2 separate regions of the Homo sapiens genome follow, and region 1 is linked to region 2. Evidence: promoter capture Hi-C in human tissues and cell types (Jung and others, 2019). All regions are on one chromosome and are shown on one strand. Each heading gives the region's core, a stretch centred on a gene start or on the middle of the fragment in contact. The rest is flanking DNA. Distances are from core to core; before and after follow the strand shown. Region 1 has its middle 7.8 kb from the start of IRGC. Region 2 holds the start of CLASRP (CLK4 associating serine/arginine rich protein).

Region 1 (2,700 bases), core at 4-2,503, 1.3 Mb before region 2:
ATGAGCCACCGTGCCCGGCTAATTTTTTTGTACTTTTAGTAGAAACGGGGTTTCACTGTGTTGGCCAATCTGGTCTTGAACACCTGGCTTCAAGTGATCCTCCTGCTTTGGCCTCCCAAAGTGCTGGGGTTACAGGTATGAATGACCATGCCCAGCGTATTTTTGCATTTAGTTAAATTCTGGTTTTGGGCAGTTTTAAGATCTAATTTCAATGTCTTTTCTGTAGACTGCAGTCACTTTTGGGGTGAAACAGGGAATCTGAACATGTATGTCTCAAAGTTTGACTTTGTGGCTGGGCGCAGGGCTCATACCTGTAATCCCAGCACTTAGGGAGTCCGAGGCAGCAGGATCACTTGAGCCCAGGAGTTGGAGACCAGCCTAGGCAACATGGCGAGACCCTGTCTCTACAAAAAATACAAAAAACTAGCCAGGCATGTGGCACGCGCCTGTAGGCCTAGCTACTCAGGAGGCTGAGGTGGGAGGATCACTTGGGCCTCAGAGGTCAAGGCTGTAATGGGCCATGATCGTGCCACTGCACTCCAGCCTGGGTGACAGAATGAGATCCTATCTCAAAAAAAGAAAAAATAGGCTGGGCGCAGTGGCTCACGCCCGTAATCCCAGCATTTTGGGAGGCCGAGGTGGGCGGATTACTTGAGGTCAGGAGTTCAAGACCAGCCCGGCCAACATGGTGAAACCCCATCTCCATCTCCACTAAAAACACAAAAATTAGCTGGGCGTGGTGGCAGGCACCTGTAATCCCAGCTACTTGGGAGGCTGAGGCAGGAGAATCGCTTGAACCCAGTGGGCATAAGTGGCAGTGAGCCGAGATCATGCCACTGCACTCCAGCCTGGGCAAAACCCCATCTCAAAAATAAATAAATAAATAAATATGAAAGATGTGGATACAGAAGTCAATGCCCTTTAGTTTGGCAGCACAGGGATTGGTGAGAAGGACTTAATGTGGCTCTTTCTGGTAAGGCTGGATAGAATTCTTGCGTACGTGTCTTTTCCAATAGACAAAGTCGCCAGGCTGCAGATCATGGTGTTGTAGGTCTTTGTCTCCTATGATTGTGCTGTGGAAAGATTGTTCTATCAAAATATGATTTCTATCCATTGCTTTATTAATGCCTTTACCTTAGTAAGGCTTTATTAATATTGAAGTATGTCTGTTTTGTTTTTTTTTGTTTTTTTGTTTTTGTTTTGAGACAGTGTCTCCCTCTGGTGCCCAGGCTGGAGTACGGTAGCGGGATCTTGGCTCATTGCAACCTCTGCCTCCCGGTTGAAGTGATCGTCCCGTCTCAGCATCCCGAGTAGCTGGGACTACAGGTGCACACACAACTACACCCAGCTAATTTTTGTGTTTTTGTAGAGACAGGGTTTTGCCATGTTACCCAAGCTGGTCTCGAGCTCCTGGACTCAAGCGATCCCCTTGCTTCAGCCTCCCAAAGTGTTAGGATTTTACGAGTGTGAGCCACTGCACCCAGATGGATATGTCTCCTTTTATCAATTAAGGGTCAAAAGCAGAGGAGGCCAAGTGCATAGGATGGCCTGTGACTATTTCCAAAGGTGAAAGTTTATGAGCCCCAAAGAGAGTGGCCCTTAGATTTAATAATACCAAAGGAGGAACTTAGGTCAAGGAAGGTGTAGATAAATTCTGCCAACTGGGTTTTTTGTTTTTTTGTTTTGAAATGGAGTCTCACTCTATCACCTAGGCTGGAGTGCAGCGGCTTGATCTCAGCTCACTGCAACCTCTGTCCCCTGGGTTTGAGCAATTCTCCTGCCTCAGCCTCCCAAGTAGCTGGGATTATAGGCGTGTACCACCACACCTGGCTAATTTTTGTATTTTTAATAGGGATGGGGTTTCACCATGTTGGCCAGGCTGGTCTTGAACTCCTGATCTCAAGTGATCTGCCTGCCTCAGCCTTCCAAAGTGCTGGGGTTACAGGGGTGAGCTACTGTGCCCGGCCATCCAACTGGGTTTTTATAGTTCCCCTTGTTTGTTCCACTGAGCCAGAAGATTGGGGATTGTAGACAGTGGAAATGCTGAGAAATTGGCCAAACTGAACTCACTTGTTTTATTATATGGCCAGTAAAATGGGCTCCTGATCACGATGTACTTCAAGGGGAGTTCCCTAGGTGGGAATACTTTTTTTCCAGGAGAATTTTGGCCACAGCTGAAGCAGTGGCTTGTCTACCAGGAAAGCCTCTACCCAATAGGAGAATGTGCAAACTGTTACTAGTACATATATATATATATATATATATATACACACACACACACACACACACACACACACACACACACGGAAGTGGGTAGTTGGATAAAATCCATTTGCCAAACCTTGAAGGGCCCATTAGGTAGATTAAAATGTCCAGGATCGGGATGTACACATTTTCCTGAGTTAAACTTACGGCAGGTGGCACAAGTGCCAAATAGGCTTTTTTTTTTTTTTTTGGCAGCTTTTTTTTTTTTTTTTTTTTTTTTTTTTGAGAGAGGGTCTCATTCTGTCACTCAGACTGGAGTGCAATGGCACGATCTCCACTCACTGCAGCCTTGATCTCCTAGGCTCAGGTGACTCTCCCACCTCAGCCTCCCCAGTAGTTGAAACTACTTATTTTGATATTTTTAGTAGAGACACGATTTCCCTATGTTGCCCAGGCTGGTCTCGAACTCCTGGACTCAAGCAATCCGCCCCCTTC
Region 2 (2,934 bases), core at 410-2,909:
CTTGTCTTCATCCCCGTAGGCCCGTTCCTCCCGCCGTCAGCCCTGCTGCCAGACCCTGACTTCTTCTCTGGCACCGTGTCCCTGCCCGGCCTGGAGCCCCCTGGCGGGCCTGACCTCCTGGACGATGGCTTTGCCTACGACCCTACGGCCCCCACACTCTTCACCATGCTGGACCTGCTGCCCCCGGCACCGCCACACGCTAGCGCTGTTGTGTGCAGCGGAGGTGCCGGGGCCGTGGTTGGGGAGACCCCCGGCCCTGAACCACTGACACTGGACTCGTACCAGGCCCCGGGCCCCGGGGATGGAGGCACCGCCAGCCTTGTGGGCAGCAACATGTTCCCCAATCATTACCGCGAGGCGGCCTTTGGGGGCGGCCTCCTATCCCCGGGGCCTGAAGCCACGTAGCCCCGCGATGCCAGAGGAGGGGCACTGGGTGGGGAGGGAGGTGGAGGAGCCGTGCAATCCCAACCAGGATGTCTAGCACCCCCATCCCCTTGGCCCTTCCTCATGCTTCTGAAGTGGACATATTCAGCCTTGGCGAGAAGCTCCGTTGCACGGGTTTCCCCTTGAGCCCATTTTACAGATGAGGAAACTGAGTCCGGAGAGGAAAAGGGACATGGCTCCCGTGCACTAGCTTGTTACAGCTGCCTCTGTCCCCACATGTGGGGGCACCTTCTCCAGTAGGATTCGGAAAAGATTGTACATATGGGAGGAGGGGGCAGATTCCTGGCCCTCCCTCCCCAGACTTGAAGGTGGGGGGTAGGTTGGTTGTTCAGAGTCTTCCCAATAAAGATGAGTTTTTGAGCCTCCGGGGTTTCGTCTGTTCTGGGCTTGGGAAACGCCCTAGTCCCTTAGTAGCAAAGAAAGCCTCCAGGCTGGGGGCTCAGGCCTGTCATCCCAGCACTTTGGGAGGCCAAAGCAGGAGGATCGCTTGAGCTCACGAGTTTGAGACCAGCCTGGGCAACATGACGAAACCTAGTCTCTACAAAAAATACAAAAATTAGCCGGGCGTGGTGCTGCGCGCCTGTAATCCCAGCTACTCTAGAGGCTGAGGTGGGAGGATCGCTTGAGCCCAGGAGGTGGACGTTGCAGTGAGCCAAGACCGCACCACTGCACTCCAGCTTGGGCGACAGCGCGAGGCTGTGTCTCAAAAAAATAAAAAATGAAAATGAAAATAAAAAATGAGACCGGGCATGGTGGCTCATGGCTGTAATCCCAGCACTTTGGGAGGCCGAGGCAGGTGGATCACCTGAGGTCAGGAGTTTGAGACCAGCCTAACCAAAATGGTGAAACCCCATCTCTACTAAAAATACAAAAATTAGCCGGGCTTGGTGGCGCGCGCTTGTAGTCCCAGCTACTCGGGAGGCTGAGGTGGGAGAATAGCTGAAACCCAGGAGGCAAAGGTTGCAGTGAGCCTAGATCGCGCCACTGCCTTCTAGCCTGGGAGACAAAGAGAGACTCCGTCTCAAAAAAATAAAATTAAATAAATAAATAAAATAAAAAAGATAAAAAGATAAAGCATCCAAGCTCTTCCCTTCTCCGCTCTCCCACTTCTTCCTCGGGATCCCGCCCCTCTCGACTCTAGGACCCGCCTCTCTCGTCGGCGGAAGTGCGCTGCGCGGCCCTCCACCATGCTCCGCCCCCTCCCCCTAGCGCGGCCTTTCATTTCCGCTTCCGGTGCGGGCCGCGCGCGAGCGCAGCGGTGGGAGGCGGCGACCAGCCGGTGAGTGCAGGCTGCGGCTCGACCTCCCGGTTTTCGGGCAGGCCTCAGCCCAGCTTCTCCCTTTCCTCAGGCTCTCCCCATGCTGCTGTGGGCTTCTGCTGCGTCCCGGCCCCGAGGATCGCTCGTCCCTCACCCCATTAGGCCTGACGGGCCTCAGGCCGAGCCCGTGCCCCGGCTGTGGGCCAGAAGTTGCCGCGTCGAACTCGGCCTTCGGCCCAGCAGCTTATCACAGGCCCCGCCCCCTTGTCAAAAAAAAAAACAACAAAAAAAAAACCCAGCCCAAATCCTCAGGCCGCGACGCGATCCACAAGCCCCGTCCAAACCTTCGGTCTCCGCCCTTTCCCGCAAGCCCTGCCCCCAAGCTCAGCCCACGCCCTCCTGTCAGCCAGCTCCGCCTCTCTCAGGCTCTACGCTCTTTTTCTTTGGATGCTCTCCCCACCCCGCCATCTAGATCCCATCTTTAGACCTCAGCTTCACTCTGGTCTCCTTGCAACACTCCCTCCCCGTGTTCCCACTCCCTCTAGCATCTTCATCTTCCGCCACGCCCTTCACCTGTCCTCGACCTCCACCTTCATACAACTGCACTGTTCCCTTAAAAGCTTTCTCCGATTTCCTCCACCTGCCTTCATCCTTATTCTCCTTATCCCTCTACCACCCAGACTCATACCCAACCCCACGCATGGCCCCTAGTGGGAGCCTTTTCAGTTCTTCTCTTTCTCTTGAGCTCCAGCCTTAAGTGCTCAGGGTTTGCCTTCTGACCCTACTTCAAACACTGCTGATGTTTCAAAACCTTTCATTCCCGACTCCAGCGCGTGGAATCTAGGACACCCCTTTCCCAGTGATGCTCACCTCAGAATCACCTGAGGGTTTTTCAGAATGCCCAAGCTTCTAGATCGAAGTTGTTAGGGATGGACTTGAACATCTGGCATACTGTTCTGCAGCTTCACTTCTGCTCCCTGAAGCTAAGAGATGTGTTGTTTGGGATCGACTCTGCCACCAACTTGTTAGATGACTTTGATTCTGCCCATACGGGTTTCACAGACCATCTGACTTTCCTGGTCCCTTCATCCCTCAGGTTGAGGCCCCAGGCTTGGCCTCACCACAATGTGGCACGAGGCTCGGAAGCATGAGCGGAAGCTTCGAGGCATGATGGTCGACTACAAGAAGAGGGCGGAGCGGAGACGGGAGTATTATGAAAAGATCGTGAGTAA

What was found. The method cuts DNA at HindIII sites, captures the fragments that hold promoters and counts their contacts. A contact is called where the count stands out against the background at its distance.
Region 1: a fragment that was not itself captured here is called in contact with the fragment with the promoter of CLASRP in region 2 in 1 of the 25 tissues and cell types used here (liver).

Annotation. Positions count from the first base shown.
Region 1 is chr19:43,722,564-43,725,263 of GRCh38, forward strand. No RefSeq gene overlaps it. Among named protein-coding and RNA genes, the nearest start is that of IRGC, 7.8 kb to the left of the region's middle. The HindIII fragment of the contact is 3,341 bases long and covers 1-2,700 here.
Region 2 is chr19:45,037,386-45,040,319 of GRCh38, forward strand. It overlaps CLASRP (CLK4 associating serine/arginine rich protein), which reads left to right and starts at 1,660. Exons shown (of 21, transcript NM_007056.3): 1 at 1,660-1,723; 2 at 2,799-2,926. The coding sequence starts at 2,828. It overlaps RELB (RELB proto-oncogene, NF-kB subunit), which reads left to right. Exons shown (of 12, transcript NM_006509.4): 12 at 20-807. The coding sequence ends at 405. RefSeq lists an enhancer at 1,334-2,203. The HindIII fragment of the contact is 17,106 bases long and covers 1-2,934 here.